Regions from separate parts of the Homo sapiens genome. Here region 1 is linked to region 2. Evidence: promoter capture Hi-C in human tissues and cell types (Jung and others, 2019). All regions are on one chromosome and are shown on one strand. Each heading gives the region's core, a stretch centred on a gene start or on the middle of the fragment in contact. The rest is flanking DNA. Distances are from core to core; before and after follow the strand shown. Region 1 has its middle 17 kb from the start of MYBL2. Region 2 holds the start of DBNDD2 (dysbindin domain containing 2).

What was found. The method cuts DNA at HindIII sites, captures the fragments that hold promoters and counts their contacts. A contact is called where the count stands out against the background at its distance.
Region 1: a contact is called between a fragment that was not itself captured here and the fragment with the promoter of DBNDD2 in region 2, in 1 of the 25 tissues and cell types used here (spleen).

What each region holds. Positions count from the first base shown.
Region 1 is chr20:43,647,370-43,652,150 of GRCh38, reverse strand. No RefSeq gene overlaps it. Among named protein-coding and RNA genes, the nearest start is that of MYBL2, 17 kb to the left of the region's middle. The HindIII fragment of the contact is 6,998 bases long and covers 1-4,781 here.
Region 2 is chr20:45,406,950-45,412,328 of GRCh38, reverse strand. It overlaps DBNDD2 (dysbindin domain containing 2), which reads right to left and starts at 4,040. Exons shown (of 3, transcript NM_001048225.4): 1 at 3,723-4,040; 2 at 3,391-3,528; 3 at 1,722-2,397. The coding sequence starts at 3,861. The coding sequence ends at 2,189. It overlaps SYS1-DBNDD2 (SYS1-DBNDD2 readthrough (NMD candidate)), which reads right to left. Exons shown (of 6, transcript NR_003189.2): 4 at 3,723-3,869; 5 at 3,391-3,528; 6 at 1,719-2,397. LOC107985404 (a long non-coding RNA gene) reads left to right here and starts at 4,440. Exons shown (of 5, transcript XR_007067608.1): 1 at 4,440-4,580. LOC107985405 (a long non-coding RNA gene) reads left to right here. Exons shown (of 2, transcript XR_001754640.2): 2 at 1-1,754. RefSeq lists an enhancer at 4,903-5,379. The HindIII fragment of the contact is 23,713 bases long and covers 1-5,379 here.

The DNA.
Region 1 (4,781 bases), core at 752-3,251, 1.8 Mb after region 2:
CCCAGCCACTCAATGTATTTTAAAATACATTTTTTAAAATTAGCTGGGTATGGTAGCATACACCTGTAGTCCCAGTTACTCGGAAAGCTGAAGCAGGAGGATTGCTTGAGCCCAGGAGGTTGAGGTTACAGTGAGCTATGATCACACCAGTGCACTTCAGCCTGGGCAACAGAGCAAGACCCTGTCTCAAAAAAATCAAAAACAAGGCTGGGCGCAGTGGCTCACGCCTGTAATCACAGCGCTTTGGGAGGCCGAGGCGGGTGGATCACTTGAGGTCAGGAGTTTGAGACCAGCCTGGTCAACATGGTGAAACCTTGTCTCTACTAAAAATACAAAAAATTAGCCAGGCGTGTTGGCACGTGCCTGTAATCCCAGCTATTGGGGAGGCTGAGGCAGGAGAATCACTTGAACCTGGGAGGCAGAGGGTGCAGTGAGCTGAGATTGTGTCACTGCACTCCAGCCTGGGAGACAGAATGAGACCCTGTCTCAAAAAACAAAACAAAACAAAAAAACAAAAATAAAAATAAAAACAAATATAACAAAATGGCAGTGAGGGCACACCTTCCTTCCCATTTTATTATATTCATGGATTCTGGGAGTCAGGAATTCACAAAGAACACAGCAGGGATGGCTTGTCTCTGCTCTATGACATCTGGGACCTCAATTGGGATGACAAAAGGCTGAGGTGCTTGATGGTTGGGGCCAGGAGTCATTTGGAGGTATCATCATTCATGTTTGGCAAGCGATTTATACCAAGATGCTGGTATAGACTGAGATCTCTGGCTGTTGGCCAGAACACCTATACATGGCCTATCCACGTGGCCTTGGACTTCTTACATGGAGGCTTGTGTTCTAAAGGTGAATGTCCCAAGATAACCAGGCAGAAGCTGTATAGCCTTTTATGAACTAGCCTCAGAGGTCACCAGCATCACTTCTGCCACGGTGCCAGATTCAAAGATTCAGAGGAGGGAACAGAGACCCCACCTCTCAATGGGAGGAGCATCAAGCCCACAGGATAAGAGAAGAGCATTTGGGTTGGGAGACAATCATTGAACACATTTTGGGTATGTATTTGGAACACACTGCCACAGCACTCCCCAGGCCTGTCCTCTAGCTGCTTATCTCCCAGCTTTGAGCTAGAGCCCCCAAATTCTTCTGCCCCTGGAGTGGCTTCCCCGTTCCCCAGTGCCCTGCCCTGGCTGGCAACTCTGAATAAGCCGTGTACTAGGGCTTGAGTATGGGAGAGAATGGAAGCCTATGAACAGAGCTTTACCATGAAGAAATCATTTGAAACTCAGGATTTGACTTGAGCTGTTCTTCCCAAGCTTTTAAATTTCTAACACTACTCTTTGACAAATGATTCTCATGACTTTAATTAACCACTCCATATGAACAACTCCACTCTTGAGACTGGACATCTTTTCTAAGCCTAAATTAGGGATTTCCAGCCATTTACTAGTTATTTCCACCTGTATTAATTGCCATAGTCTCAACTGGACTCTTATGCTCCAAAACCACTCATCCTTCAGACTCCCCATCTTTTTTTTTTTAATAGAGTTTCCCTCGTTACCCAGGCTGGAGTGCAATGGCATGATCTCGACTCACTGCTACCTCCACTTCCCGGGTTCAAGCAATTTTCCCACCTCAGTCTCCTGAGTAGCTGGGATTACAGGCGCCCGCCACGCCAGGCTAATTTTTGTATTTTTAGTAGAGACGGGGTTTCACCATGTTGGCCAGGCTGGTCTAGAACTCTTGATCTCAGGTGATCTGCCCGTCTCGGCCTCCCAAATTGCTGGGATTACAGGCATGAGCCACCGTGCCTGGCCTAGACTCCCCATCTTTTAATAGCTGCCCCCACTGTCCCAGGAAATCAAGCCCCAAATCTTGCCAATCTAACTTTCAACACCCAGACCAAAGTGTTTCAAAATGCCACCTTTCCTATAATACCACCTTAGTCCACATCCTTATTATTTGCTCTTGGGGTTGTATCAAACTCTTCTGTAAATGACCATCCTTCTACCATTCCCATCTTTATAGAACCCACCAGCTAAACTATTCCCATTGTGCAGCAATGGGAATTGCTCCTCCCCTCCCCCCTCCCCCCTTTCCTCCCACCTCCCCTCCCCTCCCCTCCTCTCCTCTCCTCTCCCTTCTCTCCTCTCCTATCCTCAGTGGCTCTGCAACCTTCCATCTGGCTTTCAGAGTTCCCCAAAGCTGGTTATCTGTGTATGTCAGTACACTGCTGTGCATTTCTATACACCAACTGCACCATTCTGACAGGTGCAGTCTCTCCCATTGTCCCATGACAATACCCTCTAGCCTCCTTGGAACAGATGATTAAATTTGGCCCTACATTATAACCCAAGATGATGATAGAACTGAGTGCTTCAGGAAGCCAGAGGACAGGGAAGAAGCATGGGTGGCCCATTCTGGAGTGCAGTGGTATGATCATAGCTAGTGCAGCTTTGAACTCCTGGGCTCAAGCAATCCTGCCACCTCAGTCTCCCAAATACCTGGGACTACAGGTGTGTGCCACTATACCTGGCTAATTTTCATTTTTGTAGAGATGGACTTTCACTTTTGTTCCCCAGGCTCAGCTTCTAAATCAGGAGTATCTAATCTTTTGGCTTCCCTGGGCAACATTGGAAGAATTGTCTTGGGTCACACAAAATACACTAACAATGGCTGATGAGCTAAAAAAATAATAATAATGGCCGGGTGCAGTGGCTCACACCTGTAATCCCAGCACTTTGGGAGGCCGAGGCTGGTGGATCATGAGGTCAGGAGATCGAGACCATCCTGCCTAACACAGTGAAACCTCGTCTCTATTAAAAATACAAAAAATTAGCCAGGCATGGTGGTGGGTGCCTGTAGTCCCAGCTACTTGGGAGGCTGAGGCAGGAGAATGGCATGAACCTGGGAGGTGGAGTTTGCAGTGAGCCAAGATAGCGCCACTGCACTCCAGCCTGGGCAAAAGGGCGAGACTCCTTCTTAAAAAAAATAAAAAAAATAAAAATAAAAATAATAATAAACACATCTATCTCTTAATTTTTTTTTTTTTTTTTGACAGTCTTGCTCTGTCACCCAGGCTGGAGTGCAGTTATGTGATCTTGGCTCACTGCAACTTCTGCCTCCCAGGTTCAATGATTTTCCCCACCTCAGCCTCCCAAGTAGCTGGGACTACAGCTATGAGCCACTATGCCTGACCATGTCTGGCTAATTTTTTTTTTTTTTTTGAGACAGTCTTGCTCTGTTGCCCAGGCTGGAGTGCAGTGGTACAACCTCAGCTCACCACAACCTCTGCCTCTGGGGTTCAAGCGACTGTCCTGCCCCAGCCTCCTGAGAAGCTGGGATTATAGGCCTGCACCACCACACCCGGGTAATTTTTGTATTTTTAGGAGAGACAGGTTTTCGCCATGTTGGCCAGGCTTGTCTTGAACTCCTGACTTCAAGTGATCCATCCACCTCGGCCTCCCAAAGAACTGGGATTACAGGCATGAGCCACCGTACCAGGCCTCTACACCTGGCTAATTTTTGTATTTTTTGTAGGGACAGGGTTTCATCCTGTTGGCCAGGTTGGTCTCTATCTCCTGGCCTCAGGTGATCCACCCACCTTGGCCTCCCAAAGTGTTGGGATTACAAGCATGAGCCACTGCACCTGGCCTCATAATGTTTTAAGAGTTTACAAATTTGTAGGCCGGGCGCGGTGGCTCACGCTTGTAATCCCAGCACTTTGGGAGGCTGAGGCGGGCGGATCATGAGGTCAGGAGATCGAGACCACGGTGAAACCCCATCTCTACTAAAAATACTAAAAATTAGCCGGGCGTGGTGGCGGGCGCCTGTAGTCCCAGCTACTCGGAGAGGCTGAGGCAGGAGAATGGTGTGAACCCAGGAGGCAGAGCTTGCAGTGAGCCGAGATCGCGCCACTGCACTCCAGCGTGGGTGACAGAGCGAGACTCCGTCTCCAAAAAAAAAAAAAAAGTTTACAAATTTGTTTTAGGCCACATTCAAAGCCGTCCTAAGCCACATGCAGCCCATGGGCTGCGGGTTGGACAAGCTTGCTCTACATGGTTGTGTCCTATGGGCAACTGGGAGATGAAGGGATGAGATCTATATAAGGAAGGTATCTGTCTACTCTTTTATCTTCTTCTTTAGGTACAGTGGGGTAAACAGACTATGGGTTAAGTTCTGTATCCTTTTTTTTTTTTTTTTTTGAGACAAGAGTCTTGCTCTGACACCCAGACTGGTATGTGGTGGTGTGATCTCAGTTTACTGCAACCTCCGCCTCCCGGGTTCAAGTGATTCTCCTGCCTCACCCTCCCGAGTAGCTGGAACTACAGGTGTGTGCCACCATGCCCGGCTAATTTTTTGTACTTTTAGTAGAGATGGGGTTTCACCATGTTAGCCAGGATGGTCTCGATCTCCTGCCCTCGTGATCCACCCAACTCGGTCTCCCAAAGTGCTGGGATTACAGGCATGAGCCACTGCACCTAGCCTCCCATCCCCCCCTTTTTTTTTTGAGACAGAGTCTCACTGTCACCCAGGCGGGAGTGTAGTGGCGTGATCTCGGCTCACTGCAACCTCTGCCTCCCAGATTCAAGTGATTCTCCTGTCTCAGCCTCCCAAGTAGCTGGGATTACAGGCACATGCCACCACACCTGGCTAACTTTTGTATTTTTAGTAGAGACAGGTTTCACCATGTTGGCCAGGCTGGTCTTGAACTCCTGACCTCAAATGATCCGCCCGCCTCGGCCTCCCAAAGTGCTGGGATTACATGAGTG
Region 2 (5,379 bases), core at 2,791-5,290:
GGGTGAGAGCAGGATGGGACAATAGGAAGACTGCAGCCTTGTCACTCAACCTTGGGTGGCACAAAAAGCTTTAGGATTTTGGCTGAAGGTCACTGATCCCATGGGTGATGTTCAATGTATGAAGGGAGGTGGACTGATTTTTTTTTTTTTTTTTTGAATGTGAGAAATGAGTTGATGTTCCTTAAGACTGGGTCCTATAACCTCTTCTTTCATTCAGCATTCTCTCCCTGGGCATTCTCTCCTGTCATTCGCACCCATGGCTTCACTTACCACCTATACACTGAGAACTGATCGTTTTCTTTTTCCAGCTCAATCCTCTTATCTAAATTCCACATGCATGGGTGCAAGGGCCTACTCAACATATCCTCTTGGATGTCTCAAAGACATCTCAAACTCAACATGTCCCAAACCAAATTTATGGCCTTCTTCTCAAACCTGGTCCTTTCTGAAACTCCCCATCTGGGTGACTAGCCCTCTGTTCCAAAAAGGATGTAAGGAGCCAGAATGGCTGGAGTACCCCCTCACTTGACATGCCAAGGAGTTCACGTCTATCTGGAGACACTGATTTGAGAGACTCTGCTGGAAGACTATAGGATGGTTGGCCAGGTGCAGTGGCTCACGCCTGTAATTCCAGCACTTCGGGAGGCCAAGGTGGGTGGATCACCTGAGGTCAGGAGTTCGAGACTAGCTTGACCAATATGGTGAAATCCCGTCTCTACTAAAAATACAAAAATTAGCCTGGCATGGTGGTGTGCGCCTGTAGTCCCAGCTACTCGGGAGGCTGAGATGTGAGAATTGCTTGAACCTGGGAGGCGGAGGTTGCAGTGTGCCGAGATCGTGCCATTGCACTCCAGCCTGGGCGAAAGAGTGTGACTTCATCTTGGGGGAAAAAAAAAGAACTTCCAAAAATTTCTTCCTAAATGGGAATAGACTGGCTGTGCCCTCTTTGCCCATCCCCCATTTCCTCTCCTGCTTTCTGCCAGTCTCAAGGTCATGATGGCTGGGGCTTTGACAGCCACCTTAGATGTGAGATATTGCTAAGAATGCAAACCATGTGCAAAAGAGCAAAAAAGGAGCCCAGTGCTGAGTAACGATGGAGCTTTCATGTAGACCTGTACTTTTTAACTTCTATATGAGGAAATAACTTTATATCTTAAGTCATGATCTTTTACTAGCTGTCAAACTGAAACCTGATCCAGGCTTCAACGGATTTTACAACCTGACCTTTGTCAGTCTTAACTCTCCCTTCATTTCCTCAAATCCAACAATTCAGCCAAACGCAATGTTTTTTAGCTCCTCAAGGATATGCTCTCTCCGTTTAAAGTCTTCACGAGCTGCTCGTTCTGCCTGGCTTACGGACTGTGCCTGGCTAACTCCCAATCGTCCTTCAGCTAAAAACAGCTCTTCAGTGACCATAGAAACTAGGTTAACATGCCCCTATTTTCTGGTACCAGAGTAGTTCCTCATCATGCTATTTATTACACTGTGAATTGTAGTATTTACTTGATTTTCTCCTCCATAAACAGTAAACTCTATGAAGGCAGGTATACAGTACAGCCTGTCTTGCTCAAAACTGTATTCCAGATGCCTAGCATGGGTGTTCCATAAACATTTCTTGAATAAATGGAATGAGTGAGTGATAGGAATATGGGATCGGTTAGAGAGCTAAAGACATGTAGTGGGTTTGATATCTTTGCAATATGAAAAATGAAGTCGAATGGTTGGCATATTATTATTAGTTTATTATTTATACCGTGCTCTGTTCCAAAAAGGATGTAAGGAGGCAGCATGGCTTGAGTACCACCTTACTTGATGAGTTAAGGAGTTCACATCCATCTAGAGACACTTGTCTGAGAGACTGTATTAGAAGACTACGGGATGGTTTAGGGGAGGGAAGAGTGCTAAGAAAAGCAGTGGCATCTTGTCCAACCTCATCTTCTCTCTCCTCATTTGCAAATCATATCTCAGGAGTAAGCCAAAAACTGGTGGGAGGGTTGCAGCAGGAAAAAATTAGCAGTAAAGCAGGAGAGGGTTAATTCTTAGAAAGGTACACAATCCCACCATCCTTCCCACCTCTGGTGCCTACTGCAAGTAAAGAGTCTGGTCTTCTCCCGACAGGCTCTGGCTGGGCCTGTGGTCTCATGTGGAGAATAGCCAGCGTGGTCAGTCTGTAGGCAGGGGCCCACTGCTAGCTGCAGGCTCCAGGCTCTGCCCCTCCATCACCCCTTTCCTCCTCTTCATCCGACTGTGCCAAGGGCGTATCTGCTCCATCATCACTTGGATTTGGGCTATGCAGGTTGGTGGAGGAGTCGGAGGAGGAGGAGGAGGAGGTCCTAGATGTGGTCCTGTCTGATGTAGGCACCGGCAGGCTCAGCTCCTCCAAATGGTTGTCCATCCCTGCCCAGAGAGAAAAGCTGGTCAGGCCACAAACAGGGCTTCAGAGAACTCTTAAAGATTATCTGGCCAGGAGTAACTAAAGTCCACAGTGGGGCAGAGACTTGTCCAAAGTGACTTTGCCAATCCAGCAAAGAGCCAGGATTAAGATCACCATCTCCTGACTGCCAGCTCCTTCCACGTCATTACACCATGTCTGGGATCTACAGTCAGGTCAATGAATGGCAAGAGTTCAAGTTCCACCTACATCACTTATTGCTGCTGAGTGGCTTTGAGCAAGTCACTTTCCCTTTCAAGGACTCTGTTCCTCCTCTGCAAAATAAAAGGGATACCTACATCCCCAAAGGGTTTTGGGAATAAAACCTAAGAATGCTTATAAAATGTCTGGCATAGTAAGCCATCAATAAATAGTAGCAGTTTTAATTAAAAGAATATCTATCTTACAAGTTAAGCATATGGGCTTTGGAGTCAGACAGACATGAATTCCAGTTTATCTACCTTCTGGCTACAATGTGACTTAACTTCTCTGAGCCTAATTTCCTGCTTATAAAATAGAGATTATATCACCTACCCTGACAGGACGTTGTAAGGATTGAGATAATATATGTAAAGTACTTTAGTACAGTATTGGAACCTACTAAAGTACTCAATACATATTAATATCATTATAATGACTAAAACTACTTAAGTTGCCAAATATAAAAATTACAATTTTACATTATTTTAATTATAGTGACTAATTATATTAATATAACAAATGTAAAATTAAAGAAGAGATTGACCGTTCCCAGAATTTTGGATTAGAGATGTGTAACCCAGTTCTCCCTCAGGGTCAACTTCCCTAAAATCAGAACAGGCAGCTGTTTCATTGGTAGAAACACCCACTTCCAGCCCTTACTTGTGTACTTCCCCAGCCCAGCCTTGTAGCCTCGTTTCAGAGCCTGACATCCGGCTCTGGCTGACTGGCACTGAAGTCCCCAAAGCAGAGGGGCATACCAGACGACTGGGGGGTTGGTGGAGGATCTTCGCAAGGCAAGAACACATCTGCTGCATCCGGGTCCCCAAGGTCAATAAGTTCTACTTGCTCCAGTGTGTCCACATTCACTTCCATGGATGAGATACTACCTATGGGGGCTGCGGATCAAGAAGTGGGCAAGTCAGGAGGACCCAAGCTGCACACCAGGACAGTGAGAGTTACATGTCAGGTCCCAAGTTAGAAGCATAGAGGGCCAAGAAAACCAGAGGGGAGAGAGTGCCACAAGATTCAGGACCCACAGGACATCCTCCCTACCCTACCCCAGTCCCTCTTCTCAGGACTTGGGACTTACGTCTCTGCGACTCGAGATGCAGATGGGACAGAGGAAAGACAAACTCTGTCTCTGGCTGTAAAATGTCCTCGAAGAATTTTTGCCGCTCCCGAAGGCGGAGCTGCTGGCGCTCCAGGGCGGCCCGAGGATTTGGGTCCATGTCAGCTCCTGCGGGTAGAGGAGCAAAACAAGTACAGCTGCAAAGTCGAAAGAGAAGACAGAGGGGACCTGGGCTTGGGGCGCCCCACTGCAGCCAGCATCCCAACAGTGGGGCCCCTGGCTCCGGCCTGGACACCTCTGCCCTTGGTGACCTCTTTCCCCTTCCCTGAAACCAAGTGTGTCCCACAAACCAAGTCTCATGCAGAGGCGGGGCTTGCCCTAAGCTCCACAAAGGGGATGCCAGTTCCAGGCACCACAAGAGAGATACTCTGTATTCAGGGAACACAGCCAATGCCCAACTCTCCATATCATGCCCTCCTGAGAGGGGTTGGAGGGATTGGTTCAGCACAAATGGAGGAGGTACGTTTTCCCCTTAATTGGCCCCGCTTGCCTCAGAAGGCCAGGGACAGGATAGGATAGAGACAGAGATCTCAGGGTGGAGGGTTCCCTTCCTCCAGTGCTGCAGCCCACCCCTTCCCATCCTTCAAAACCCAGACAAAGGCTAAAGCAACTCCTCCCGCGCCCCTCCTTTTCTCTCCACCCACACAAACACGTACACACGCATGTGCCATCTACCCCAAACCCTTGCTCTGAAGTCACAGGCCTGACTTCCAGACTAGGCTCTGCCCCTAAGGAAATCACCTTTCTGGTCTTAGTCTCCCCATCTGAAAATGGCATAACCAACCTACCTGCCTCAAATACAAGACCCTGCTTGTGAAGGTGAGCTATTTAGGAGACTACCATCTTTCCTTTGAACTCCAACAGCTCTTTATGCGTCCCCCTCCTGGGACACATCTCACTGACTTATCTCCCCATTAGTCAGTGAGGAGCAATTGGAAAGGCGGGTTCTGGGTCCAGTTCAGAGCAGGCCTCCTGACCCCTAGGGCTGAGAAGCTGAGACCCTGCCAGAGCACTGAGGCTATGGGCCAGCCCAGGTCGGTGCATTCATTCCCATTCGCTCATCTCCTTCCCGGCGTTCTGCTCTGAGCCCATCACCAGAGGCAAGGGAGTTTCTAGCTTGAGGATCAGACGTCATCCTCCGCAGACTGCCTTCCCCACCTCATCTGCACCCAGCGTATCCCAGACCCTGGCCAGCTCCACGGGCGCCACAGAGGTGGAGAGGGACCCAACCCCGACTGGCCAAGGCAGGGCCACGGAAGTCTGGGGAGACCGTGCGGCCGCGGGCTGGCGGCGGAGGAGCGAGGCGCTGACGCCGATTCCCGGGAAAGGCTCTTAGAGCTGCCGCCCAGGTCACAACGCTAAAAATACCCAGGGCCCCTGGAGCCTGTGCTCCAGCAGCGAGGAGGGGGAGGGAGAGGCCAAGGTGGGGGAGCTGACGGGGGCCAGGGGCTCTGGGACACCCCCTCTCTTTTCCCCTCCCCCTAACCCCACCGATCTCACGAGACTGAAGGAGCTGTCCCCCGGGGGGCCGCGGAGCCCAGAGCTGGAGAAAGGGAGTTGTTTACGCGACCTATAGGTACTGGAAAGGGGGTGAAGAGATTTGGGGGCAGGAGGCTGC